Regions from separate parts of the Homo sapiens genome. Here region 2 is linked to region 1. The links are contacts of gene promoters, found by promoter capture Hi-C in blood cells and fetal thymus (Javierre and others, 2016). All regions are on one chromosome and are shown on one strand. Each heading gives the region's core, a stretch centred on a gene start or on the middle of the fragment in contact. The rest is flanking DNA. Distances are from core to core; before and after follow the strand shown.

Region 1 (6,943 bases), core at 3,174-5,673:
TGGCCAGGCGCGGTGGCTCACGCTTGTAATTCCAGCACTTTGGGAGGCTGAGGCGGGCAGATCATGAAGTCAGGAGATCAAGACCATGGTGAAACCCCGTCTCTACTAAAAATACAAAAAAATTAGCCAGGCGTGGTGGCGGGCGCCTGTAGTCCCAGCTACCTGGAGAGGATGAGGCAGGAGAATGGCGTGAACCCGGGAGGCGGAGGTTGCAGTGAGCTGAGATTGTGCCACTGCACTCCAGCCTGGGCGACAAAGCGAGACTCCGTCTCAAAAAAATAAAAATAATAATAATAATAAATAAAAATAAAATAAAATAAAATAAATATATAATTTCTTTATTTTTATTTTATTTTATTTTTTTAAGTTCCAAGGTACCTGTGCAGGATGTGCAGGTTTGTTACACAGGTAAACATGTGCCATGGTGGTTTGCTGTACCTAGCAACCCATCACCTAGGTATTAGGCCCAGCATGCATTAGCTCTTTCCCTAATGCTCTCCCCCACCCCACCTATGTATCTTTCTTTGTGGCCTTAAATACATTTGAGTTTCTTATTTCTTACATAATGATGTCTGTATACCGAAAATAAAACTTTTTCTGACTTATCTATTGTAGATTACAGTATGACTGGCTTTAATGAAAAATAGGCATTTTGCAGAACTATTAAACCGGTCTAAGAATAGATGATATTGTACTGAATCTCCTAATCTAGCAATCCATTCAAACGCTTTTTGTTTTTTTTCTACCATCAAAGCGTGGAAGAGGTAATGGCCTAGGACCAGAATGGGGGTCTTTCATCTGTCATGTTTTATTGTAACAGATTTACTTGAAATTACGTTTCTCACCTGCAGAAACTAAGAGAAAGAGCAAGAATCAGCAGAGTAGAAGGGGGAAAGGGGACAATCAGAGCATCTCAGTGTTTTAGAGTTTGATGTGATCACTGGGCATTTAGGTTAGCCTTTTGCCTTTTCTCTCTCCAAGATTGTGGTGCTTCTGTCCAATTTTTGTTTTACAAGATGAGTTGGAAATTTAATGGATTTTATGTATGCAGCTGGAATTTTGAAACAGAAAATTAAAAGGGAGCTGCATTGGCCTGAAGGATCAAAGTTCTATTAAAAAAAAAGTGGGTTTCTTATATGAAAAAGCTTTAAAAACTAGTATTTTAAAAACATTTTACAGTTTACAAAGCACTTTTCTATAAAATTATTTCATTTGAACATACAATGAGGGAGGTCCAGGGTTATAGCATGAGTTACTGTTAGAGCTGTGACCATAAACCATGCATCTTTTTTGCTTTGTTCTTTTTTTGAGACAGGATCTCGCTATGTTGCCCACACTGGTTTCAAACTCCTGGACTCAAGCAATCCTCCTGTCTCGGCCTCCTAAAGTGCTGGGATTGCAGGTGTGAGCCACCACACCCGGCCTGCATCTTGTTTCCTTTTCTAAGACTCTTTGCATTACATATCTCCCTCTTTCATTCCCCCTTGCTCCTTCTTTCATGAATGATTCTGATAGTTACTTTATGGATGCTTAACATAAAAGACTAAAGGCTTTTTGAGGGCACATTTGGTATCCTACTTATCTTTGCATCTCTGGTATTGAACAGATCCAAAGCTGGTGTTTGGTTAATGTTTTTGAATGGACAAATGAATGAAATTAAAATAAAAAGGCAAATTAAAAAAGAGAAACAATTTTTCAGATTTTAAAATAAGTAAATGAAAACAGCAGATCAATATTATAGTTTTTATATAACTTCAGAATGTCAAATGCTGTATTAGCTGCTATGCATTTATCTACCATATCTATCTATCTATCTATCTATCTATCTATCTATCTATCTATCTGTCATTTATCTTGTTAGCTTCATTCCAAATAATTAATTTTATCATCCATTGTTATTTACAAATTCTCAGGTCACTAAGTCATAATTATAACTTGGGAAAATGTGTCCTATTTTATTGATAGCACAGAAATTAGAATTTATTCTTCAGCACCATAAGGTTTATGGGAACACAACAAATAAAAATGGTCACAATTATTTGTCATGTCTGGAAAAGTACAAGACTGTGACTACTAATTCATAACACATTTATATCAGTTTTACTTACTTATGGCTATTATATTTCCTTTGTGAATTTCACAGGTTTATGAAAGCATTAACTGATCTTTTTATATTACTCTATCTTCATGGCTTATCCACAGCTTGATTTCAACTGGCCATGCTTAGATAAAGCAAATTTCCATATATATTTTTTTCTACCTTCATGCCTAGGTAGAGATCCTAGATATGTTGAGCTTTATTTTATTTCTGCAAATGTAAGTAAACATTTGTACATGTGACTTGGAGGAAAATTAGAGGAAGAATTTATTTATTGTTCATTTAAGACTGATAATTATTGGGTTCATGTACTAGGAAGTTATACTAAGAAAAAGACTCTCAAAGAAGACACAAATTTTACAAAGCCATACTCATAAAACATATAAAGATGATGACATATCCAGGATCAGATTTAGATCCTCTAGATCCATCCCAAAGAAGAAAATACCAAAAAATAGCCCAAGCTGTAACTTTACCAATTTAGTTACTGCTGTCAAGAAACATTGCACAATGCCATCTAGTGACGAGTAACCAATGTATGATTAATCACATAGAAATGACTGGATGAGGAGGGGGAAATTCCCAGGATTTTATATGTAAGAGGGAAAGTCCTTCTGAGAGAATTAAAATGGATAGAGATTAGTTTTATTTCTCCAGGTACACTTAGTGCATGACAATTTATCACCGATCTGAAGCTTGGTAGTTTTTATTTTGAAATACTGTATTGCCACCTACCTCTGAATCTGCAGCTCTACCTCCTTCTGCAGCTGCCCTTCATTATTCCGTCCACAGCTGAACTCAGAACTGTGAGTGTTCTCCAAGCCGCAGCCCCCCATCTAATGACAGGTGGTGGAGGTGGAGCACTTTAGAAACCAGTCTCAACAAATTAAAAAAAAAAAAGGACTTCAAAAAAGGGAACCAAGTTGATTCTTAAAACAATCTGTGCCACATTAAAAATAATAACAATAAATAAACTTGGAAGTTCAAAGAGTAAAACTAAAACAGGGACTAAAGGAAATCATCTTTGTTTTTTGCAGCCAATGACTGTGCAGACCTGATGCTGTCTTGTTCTTGTACCAAATTCTCCTTGAAAATACCAGAGACCTCTCTCTGAATGGCCATAACATTATACCCTAAGGGAAATAATTTTCTCCAACATTTCTCATCTTTTGTAAACAGATGGCATATATATATTTAATATATATATTTATAGATATATTTATAGATATTTATATATATTTATAGATATATTTATATATATATTTAAAGAGAAAGAGAAATACCAACAGTCTGCCAACTGTGGAATTCTTATAGTCCGATAGTTTCTTTTTGGTTATTTTTTCACAACTAAATTAACTAGTGTTGCTGCCATAGATACATTTAAGAAAATCAGACACTTTGCTGCTTTTACATATATCTGTCTGAAACTCAGCAGGAATATTTCAGTTGCCTTAGAAAAATATCCAGTTAACAAACTTTGTGAAGTGAAAAGAAAACCTTATCAAAATCTCCAGCTTCAAGTACATTTAGTTGTTTTCTTTTTATTGTTGCTTACATGCTGTGATTGGAGCACAATATGTGGAAATTGCATAACCATTATTTCCACAAATCAAAGCTATTGAGACATGGGAAGGCCATGTGGAGCTGCTGCATGAAATGTTGGTTAAAAAAATTCCACTCTGCCTTTATATCTAAAGTCTTCCCTTCTTTCAGGTATCAATGGTTTCTTCAGTCGTAAGCATCACTAGGTTGTGTTTCGTTTGTTTAACTGCTTTTAAAATCAGAATTAGCCATAGGTCAAATAACATTTTTTGAAAAACATTTTCTCTATGTGTCTTATATTTTTCCTTAGTTCTACTTTGTTTTGTTATTTTTAATATTTTGGGGGTAATCTAGGCAAAGAGCTCTTAATTCTTAATGCATTAGAACCATCAAGAAACATTCAGTGCAATTTCCATGTCTCAGGGGAAAGTTTTGGTGTCCTCACCTCGATCCATTCCCAGGTTTATGGGGACTAGGGAGAATCCTTTCACTATTATTTTACATTTTAAAATATACCTAATCAAGTGCAGTGCAGTGCAGTGGTGTATGCCTGTGGTCCCAGCTGCTCGGGAAGCTCAGGAGAGAGCATCACTGGAACCCAGGAGTTTCAGTCCAGCCTGGGCAACACAGCAAGATCCCATCTCTAAAAAAAGAAAAGAAAGAAAAGAAAACAGTGGCCAGTCAGATGGCTATGTAGGTCAAAGACAGCCTGACTGAATCATATGAGAGGGAAGAAAAACACTTGTCATTCCTAGCTTTCTGTGTTCCTCTTTTGTTCCAGCAGAGCTTTGGTTGTACTACTCTAATACCCATACAACACTGCTTTCCTTAGAGCCACAGCTACTGCTGAGAACTCAAAAACTTCTTCCTTTCCGGTGAACACGTCTAGACTTGGGCTGGGGATGGGATGAAGATCTCTAACACCTTCCTGGAAATCAAGAAGTGCAAATAGGTAATTTTCCCTTTTTTTTTTTGAGATGGAGTCTCACTCTGTCGCCCAGGCTGGAGTGCAGTGGTGCAATCCGGCTCACTGCAATTCTCCCTGCTTCAGCCTCCTGAGTAGCTGGGATTACAGGTGCCCGCCACCACACCCAGCTATTTTTTTTAGTTTTAGTAGAGACGGGGTTTCACCGCATTGGGCAGGCTGGTCTCGAACCCCTCACCTCAGGTAGATCCGCCTGCCTCGTCCTCCCAAAGTGCTGAGATTACAGGTGTGAGCCACCGTGCCCAGCCTGGTAATTTTCTTAAGAGAGAAATAATGCTTTGTTTTGAGATGTTCTGCTGGGGTATTCTGGTAGCTCTTTCAGTGCTTAAACTCATTCCGAGTCTGCACAAATGGCATAATATTTAGCTGTGCTTTGACACTCTTCAGCACCTGGAATATAATGAGCATAAATATCTTTTTAGGTTTCTAGATCAAAGATTGTTTTCTTCTATAATGTTTCTCCTCAAAGAAGTGTTTCACTGTTCTGTAAAGTAAATTTCAGAGATTATAAGGCCAAAATAGCGATTATAGCAAAAGTCTATGATCAGTTACATTGTCTAATTTTGAATTACAGTGGCAGCTTTTCTTTTATCTTTAAATTTGGTGCCATTTCTTCCTATCATTTCCACCCCTGGGATTTTTCTGGTTAGAGATGTATATAATTGCCTTTCTGCCCACATTCCCTTCTAAAAGAATCTGTTCCCCTGCTGAACAGATGGGCCTAGTCATCTATGTTTATATCATATGACCCTACTCCCTGGTTATGATGATTGGACCAGGGTGGGGAGACCTACTCTGAGAGTCGATCCATAGGTTAGGCCAAGCCAACTAGATGATATTGTTTGAAAAAATTTCACTGAGACACAAAAGTCATAGTTAAGTGATGAGAATTGGAGTTGTCGGGTCACAGGTATTTAGTGTGAGACCTCTATGGCAAGCTTCAGCTACATGAACATTAAATTATGAGGGAACCCAAAGTAAAATCCTTACATGTGGAGCCAGCCTACAAGAGCAACCTAGAATAGACATGCAGAGAGAAGCAGTAGCAAGAGCTTACACTGACATTTGTAAAATCCCTTCTCACCATCCAGAGCCTTTTCTACTTTAAACAAACAGTATGTTTTTGAGCATGGCTTGGGCTGGATTGCCCACCTCCAGAGAACCTGTTTGTCTTACACTAATCAGCATTATTACATCATTCTGTCCATGTGACTGATTCAGAGTAGGCATGTGAACCATTAATGGACAATAAAGGAGACAGTTGCTGGAGTTTTGTTTGTTTTTTTTTTTTTGTTTTTGAGACTGGGTTTCGCTCTGTCATCCAGGCTGACGGGCAATGGCGGGATCATGGCTCAGTGCAGTTTCGATCTCCTGGGCTCAAGTGGTCCTCCCACCTCAGCCTCCCAAGAAGTTGGGACCACAGGAGGGGGCCACCATACCCGGCTAATTTTTTTGATGTTTTGTAGATATAGGGTCTCCCTATGTTGCCCAGGTTGGTCTCTAACTCCTGAGCTCAAGTGTTCTGCCCACTTCAGCCTCCCAAAGTGCTAGGGTGAAAGGCCTGAGTCACCACTGCCAGCCAATTGCTGAAGTTTTTGGAAAAGAAAATTCTTGTCTGATCCATGGGAGTTGCTTCAAAGGTACTCTCTGCTTTTGTAGATATGAACTAGGAAGCATGTAACTGTGGTTGCTTCTGACTACACTAGAAGACGCAGCCTAAGACGAAAACTGCTTCACAGGAGATAGAGTGCAGCAGTGGAAAGAAAGCAGGTCTTTATTGACATTATGGGACTACTGGTTTTGTTAAAATCTGCCCAGTTTTTGGTTCGTCAGTCACATCGGCCAATACATTCCCTTGGTTGTTTAAGTTGTTTGATTGGATTTCCTTTTACTTGTAACTGAACTCTTAAATTTGAGTGAGATTAATGATTTTCTAGGTCTTAGGAGACAAAGCAATCCCTTGAATTTCCTGGCTCCCTAAGTAGAACAGTCGTTAGTACCATCTTGTCCATTGTGTTTTGCTTGGTTCTGTACCACCTAGCAGAATGCCTAGGACACATTAGTTGCATCACCGAAATTTATTAAGTGATAAGTTCCCTCCTCTTGAACTCTCTCAGTAATATGATCAGCATACAATCTTCGAAAGTAGTGGATTTCAGGGAGACCTCTGACTTTCAGGTTGTGTGATGTGCTCTTGGAGAAGATGAAAGACAACTATTAATGAAATGAAAGTGATTAAGGAAGAAGCCAATCAACTTCATCAAGGCTGGGAAAAATAAACTGATAGTGCTATGCAAACAGACATCATACCATATTTT
Region 2 (6,943 bases), core at 1,215-3,714, 73 kb before region 1:
GTATTACCTATTTATACCTCCGTGAGAATATATTTTCCTTAGGTTTTTTCTAAAGAGGAAGTTCTAAGAAAAGAGAAAACACGGTTGTCTAGATTCTTGAGGGTAGTGTGGTACAAAGGGAAAGAAGAAAAACTGTAGACAAATTGCTAACTTCTCAATCTTGCTTCCAGGCAAGCTCATTCACTCACAGAGTAGTAAGATGAAGAAAAACAGGTGTGGTAGGTAGCCATTTTAGGTCGTTTGCAACTCTACTGGCACAGCAGAAATTGACTTTTCAGAACATAACTCCTAGTCCAAAGGAATTAGAAAAAAGTGGCATAAATATCCACATGAATATGGCAAACTTCAAAAGTATTTGTGGGTGATTACACTTCAATTTAAGGAAAACTGTCAACATGGAAATGAATTAACAATAAGTTACCACGTAAATTTTTTTAAAAAGGCTCATTTGTTAAACTGGTTGAAATTAATACATCCATTTTAAAATGTCATCACATAAGATCAAATTTCAAATTTTGCCTAAGGCTTTAATTAATAAGGTGACCCATTTCACACCTGACATTTATGAAAATAATCAAGTACATCTTCTAAAATCAAGACACACGTGTTCTGTCTTAGCAAATACTGCTTACCTTTATTTCTTAAAAAATATTTGATGGCAACAATGCAGCAAAATTCTAAATATTAGGGAAGGCAAGAAATGAATTGTCAAAACAAGAATAGCTTGCAGGGATTTCTGAATTTTTCTTGTACTATTTCTAGGTAAAGCTTGGATTATATTTTGTATTTCATACAATAAGCCACTTTCACATTCTTCATAGAATCCCATCTCTTCTTTCCAGCACATATCTTTTTGTTGTTGTTGTCATTCTTTTTTTGTTTTGTTTTTTCAAGCACACGTCTTTAGAGAAGATTTGGAAACTTCCTAATGTTTCATGAGAAATGCTTCTGGCAGTGCCCGGTGGTTAGCGACCCATCATGCTTGGCTTTTTCTTTCTCATAGATGATCTCACCTACAGCCTCCAATGATTTCATCACACCCAAGTTTCATTTTAATTACAACGACAGTTGCTTTCTCTAAGCATTTATGTTTTACAATCTTCCTTCCCACCCTAACCACATGAAGCGGTATTATTTAAAATGTGCCAGGCACCATTTAAATGCTCTAAATGGAACTCATTTAATTCTACAGTAACCCTCTGAGGTGGATATTACTGTGTCTATTTCACAAATGAAGAAAACTGAGATGGTTACATAAAATATGGCAGAGCCAGGATCCCAGGCTGGCTCTAGAGTCTCTGTTCTTAACTCTTACATTATCCAACCTATTTTTATTTTTGTTTTTTTGAGATAGGGTCTAGCTCTGTTGCCCAGGCTGGAGTATACAGTGTCACTATCTCTTGGCTCACTGCAGCCTCGACCTCCCAAACTCAAGTGATCCTCCCACCTCAGCCTCCTGAGTAGCTGGGACCACAGGCATGCACCACCATGCCTGGCTAATTTTTGAATTTTTTGTAGAGACACAGTTTCATCATGTTGCCCAGACTGGTCTTGAACTCCTGGGCTCAAGCAATTGGCCGACCTCCATCTCCCAAAGTGTTGGAATTACAGGTGTGAGCCACCATGTCTGGCTGTTTCTTTTTTAAATTACCAACATTTTCAGAGGAAGTGGTATAGAAATTCTTGCAAAAATAGTGACCTGTGCACAGTCTTGATATAAGAAGCCAGATAAGGGCCGAGTTCAGTAGCTCACCTATAATTCCAGCATAGGCGGAGGCCAAGATGGGAGGATCGCTTGAGCCCAGGAGTTCAAGACCAGTCTGGACAACATAGCGAGACCTCTTCTGTACAAAAAAATTGTTTTAAAAATTAGATGGGCATGGTGTCACACACCTGTGGTCCCAGCTACTCGGGAGGGTGAAGCAAGAGGATCACTGGAGCCCAGGAGGTGGAGGCTGCAGTGAGCCATGATTTTGTCACTGCATTCTAGCCTGGGTGACAGAGTGGGACCTTGCCTCAGTAAATTAATTCATTAATTAAATGAAATCCATTTGGAGGATTAAAGGTACATTTACTTTTCAGTCCTTAGATTTATATGACTCTACATCCTCTATAAGTCTGTCTTGGAAAAAGAGACACATAAATATTAAGGGATATATCTTTAAGCAAAAGTTTGTGCTTCTCAGTTAATAGGGTTGCTTTAAAAAATAGAAAGTTTGTGTTTTTATTGTGTGCAAGCCACTCTGATAAGTAACTGATACAAGGGTGAACAAATGAGAGGCTGACCCTTAAGTTGCCTGTAGTCTCGTGGTGGTGGTGGTGGTGGTGGTGGTGGATGGTAATTAAAGAGATAATTACAGTATCGCATGGCAAGTGCTATGTTAGATATAGGTATAGCTTGCAACGGTAGCAAAGGCCAAAATTTGGGGATACACTCAGGCTTCCCAAAGGAAGTCACATCTGAAGTCTGACTTATGGATGAGTAGTAGAGTCAGATAAAAGGCTGGGAAAAGAGCAAACAAGCAGATGAATGAGATGAGTGAATGCCTGGTTTTCAGTTTGGGGAAGTGAAACACACAATCTTGTTGTGTGTTTTGGGCATGGGGAGTTGGGAGAGATGAGACAGGACTGGTAAGGAAGGCCTTTGTGTATCACATTAAGGAGCCTGAATGAGTCTGAATGCTACCCTGAGGGCAACAAGGGCCATTGAAGAATTTTCGGTGGGCAAGTGACGTGATCATGGGCAAGAAGGGAAATCATATTATCATACGACTAGGGTGGTAGACAGAATAATGCCTCCCCCATAAAGACATCCACATGCTAATCCCTGGATCCTATGAACATGTAGATTACATGGCAAAGGGTACAAAGGCTGGAGATGGAATTAAAGTTGCTAACCAACTGACCTCGAAATGAACAAATTAGTTTCAATTATCCAAATGGGCCCGATTTAATCATAAGAGACTCTAAAAATGGAAGAGGGAAGAAGAGGAGAGTCAGAGGAAGATAAAGAGAAATGACACTCAGAGAGATAAAATGATGCTGAATAAAGGGAGCCACAAGCTAAGGCAGCAGTCCCCCAACCTTTTTGGCGCCAGGGACCAGTCTCCTAGAAGACACTTTTTCCACAGATGGCAGGGGGATGGCTTCGGGATGAAACTGCTCCACCTGAGATGATCAGGCATTAGATTCTCATAAGCAGTGTGCAACCTAGATCCCTCACAGGCACGGTTCACCATAGGGTTCGTGCTCCCATGAGAATTTAATGCTGCTGCTTATCTGATAGGAGGCAAAGCTCAGGCGGTAATGCTCGCTCACCCTCCGCTCACCTCCTGCTGTGCAGCAGTGTTCCTAAAAGGCCCTACCGGCCTTACCGGGTCTGTAGGGGGTTGGTGGTGGGGGGAGGTGGGTGGGGGGTGAGGACCCCTGAACTAAGGAATGTGGGTAGCCTCTAAAGCTAGAAAAACAGGAAATGGATTCCTCCTTAGAGCCTCCAGAAGAAACGTGGCCCTGCTGACACCCTGGTTTTGGCTCAGTGAAATTCGTGTCAGACCTACAGAGCTGCATAACAAATTTGTATTGTTTGAAGCCACCACATATGTGGTAATGTGTTATAGCAGCAATAGGAAATTAAAACAATTAGGAAACTGTGATAGGGACAACCCATGTGAGAAGTGACAGTGGATAAAGAGAAATTGTTGAACTGCAGAAGTTTCAAGAAGATAGAATTGCTGGGCACATCAGGGTACGCTTAAGTAAATAAAAAAATAAAATAAAAAGAATTGTTGAGTGTGCTGGCTCACATCTGTAATCCCAACACTTTGGGAGGCTGAGGTGGGCGGATCGCTTGAGGCCAGGAGTTCAAGACCAGCCTGGGCAACACGGCAAAATCCCATCTCTACAAAAAATTCAAAAATTAGCCAGGCATGGTGGTGCACGCTTGTAGTCCCAGCTACTCAGGAGCTGAGGTGGGAAGATCGCTTGAGCCTGGAGGTCAAGGCTGCAGTGAGCTGTGATTGTGCCACTGCACTCCAGCCTTTTTTTTGACACAGAGTGAGACCCCATCTCAAAAACAAACAAAGAAAAAAAGATAGAATCAAATCTGAACACCATCTCTTCTAACTTATTTCCTGTGGCTTTAACGTGATCATTAAGCTTCATTTTCAGTACCTGTAGAATGATCAATACTTTGCAGGATATTGTTTATTTTAATTTTTATTTTTTTGATCAAGGTAATACATTAACATTAGCTTTGGAATTCAAATAGAAATACATGCTACAACATGAATTAACCTTAAAAACACTATGCTAAGTGAAATAAGCCAGACACAAAAACACAGACATTATATGATTTCACTTCTATGAGGTATTTAGAATAGGAAAATTTATAGAGACAAGAAAGTAGAATAGAGGTTACCAGAGGGTTGGGTAGAAAGAAATGGGGAATGGGAAGTTAATGTTTAATTGGTAGCGTTTCTGTTTGGAAAAATGAAAGTAAAAAATCAAGCACTGCAATAAATACAAATTAAACAAATATACTATCTAATGTCTATAATGCTCAAGGAATTGAACCATATTATAGTACGTAAATGATTTTATAAACCTAGAATTTTTCAATGTAATTTTGAGAATAAGTTTCCAGAATTAGTTTGTAATACTCTCCCTATATTTTAAATAGGAATTTCAAGTACAAGCAGTAGCTTTGTAGCTGGAACAGTTTTGAGATTACCAAAATGTATAGGCAATGACATTAGCCAGTATGATGCTGTTATACCTCTGCCCAGCACTCATTTTTTTTTTTTTAAATAAAGTAGTTAGATGGCCAGGCGCGGTGGCTCATGCCTATAATCCCAGCACTTTGGGAGGCCGAGGCAGGCGGATCACCTGAGGTCGGAAGTTCGAGACCAGCCTGACCAACATGGAGAAACCACGTCTCTACTAAAAATACAAAATTAGCCGGGCGTGGTGGCACATGCCTGTAATCCTAGCTACTAGGGCGGCTGAGGCAGGAGAATCGCTTGAACCTGGGAGGCAGAGGTTGCGGTGAGCCGAGATCACGCCATTGCACTCCAGCCTGGGCAACAAGAGTGAAACTCTGCCTCTAAATAAATAAATAAATAAATAAATAAATAAATAAAGTAGTTAGATTGGTCATGGGTGAGGCAACTGGGCAAAACTTGAACATAATACAAATGTGATTTTCTTTTGTTTTCCTTTTTTTTTTTGAGACAGGATGTCTCTCTGTTACCCAGGCTAGAGTGCAGTGGCGTGATAAAGCTCAGTGCAGCCATGACCTCCTGGGGTCAAGTGATCCTTCCACCTCAGCCTCCTGAATAGCTGGGACTACAGGTCAGTGTCACCACACGCAGCTATTTTTTTAATTTTTTAGTTGAGGGGCCTGTGGCTCATGCCTGTAATCCCAACACTTTGGGAGGCCGAAGCGGGCGGATCACAAGGTCAGGAGTTCAAGACCAGCCTGACCAACATGGTGAAACCCCGTCTCTACTAAAAATACAAAAATTAGCCGGGTGTGGTGGTGCATGCCTGTAATCCCAGCTACTCAAGAGACTGAGGCAGGAGAATCGCTTGAACCCGGGAAGCAGAGGTTGCAGTGAGCCGAGATCGTGCCACTGCACTCCAGCCTGGGCAACAGAGCGAGACTCCGTCTCAAAAAAAAAAAAAAAAAAAAAATTTATTTGAGACAGGGTCTTGCTATGTTGTTCAGGCTGGTACTGAACTCCTGAGCTCAAGCAATCCTCCCACTTCGGCCTCCCAAAGTGCTGGGATCACAGGCGTGAGCCACCAAACCCAGATTTTCAAATTAATTGGCTCCATTCCAAAACGAATCCATCCTCTTGGAAGGAAATTAAAAAAAAAAAAAAAAATGAATGTACATTTAACCTAATTAAATGTTCAACTCTGTTTAGAACTGAAGCTCTAATACGCCTGTTTATATCTCCTTTTATTTGTTTTGATACTTTGTAGCACTCCACATTCATGTTGAAAGCAAAACACATCTTTTAAATATTTACTGCATATGTGCAATATCTAAGCTGGTACTCAACAATGTGTGGTGTTAACAATGTTAACTAACAAGTTTGGTGGCTGATAATCAGCCAATTCTAGATTAACCAGGTAATGGGGATGATGTTGGGTAGAAAGGAGGAAACAGCAAATACAAAACTACTGTAACAATGAAGTTCTGACAACCTCTTATTTAGCAGAGATACATCAACTTATTTGTGGGCTACCCATGGTTGAATGATGGTAGAATTTTACCAGTTTGGGGCTAAGATTATTGGGCAGTAGAGGACAGGTAAGAAGGAGACTGAGAAATTCAGATTCAAGGTTCCAGTTTCTCCTCCTTTCTCATCTCCCTCATCCAACCCCAAACTACTGCAGCTTGGCACTTCTTTCAAGCCATCAGTAATCAGCTATAGTTATTCTGCAAAATGGTTTATCCATTCAATTACTAGTAGAAGTGACAGTATGACTGGAGATCATTTGACTGATTTAAATATATAAACATAAATTATTTAATGAGTATATTTATGAAGCAGAGACAGAGATTCTGTGGTTTCACAGTATTGACTCAACCTACAGAATAGAAATGAAATAGGATGAATACTGTGAAAGAAGGGCACACATCCCTTAGCATTTCCTAAGTGAACATCCTTGTATGCACTCTGCCTTCTCTCTCCTCCTTTTCTCTGCCAAGAAGACTTTTCTACACTAATTTGACCCACTTGTTCAACTCATCTATTGCAGCTGGGCTTCCATTCCTGCTAGGTCATCCAAATTGCCACCCAATGGCCTTAGTTACTAAATCCAATTGTCACTTTCAACTGGTACTCTATTTACTTTCTCTGTTACTTTGAGGCAGTGACTTCCTCCAAATCCTCAAGGAATTTGATAAATTTGGTGGTATGGTGAGGTGACATCC

What was found. Contacts are between HindIII fragments. The CHiCAGO score rates a contact against its expected background, and 5 or more counts as called.
Region 2: a contact is called between a fragment that was not itself captured here and the fragment with the promoter of LINC01827 in region 1, in 8 of 17 cell types (M2 macrophages, M1 macrophages, M0 macrophages and 5 more). The highest score is 10.4, in M2 macrophages.

The regions. Positions count from the first base shown.
Region 1 is chr2:195,571,973-195,578,915 of GRCh38, reverse strand. It overlaps LINC01827 (long intergenic non-protein coding RNA 1827), which reads left to right and starts at 4,423. Exons shown (of 2, transcript NR_187191.1): 1 at 4,423-4,592. The HindIII fragment of the contact is 2,770 bases long and covers 2,796-5,565 here.
Region 2 is chr2:195,643,086-195,650,028 of GRCh38, reverse strand. It overlaps a transcript of SLC39A10 not described here. Among named protein-coding and RNA genes, the nearest start is that of SLC39A10, 11 kb to the left of the region's middle. The HindIII fragment of the contact is 3,387 bases long and covers 771-4,157 here.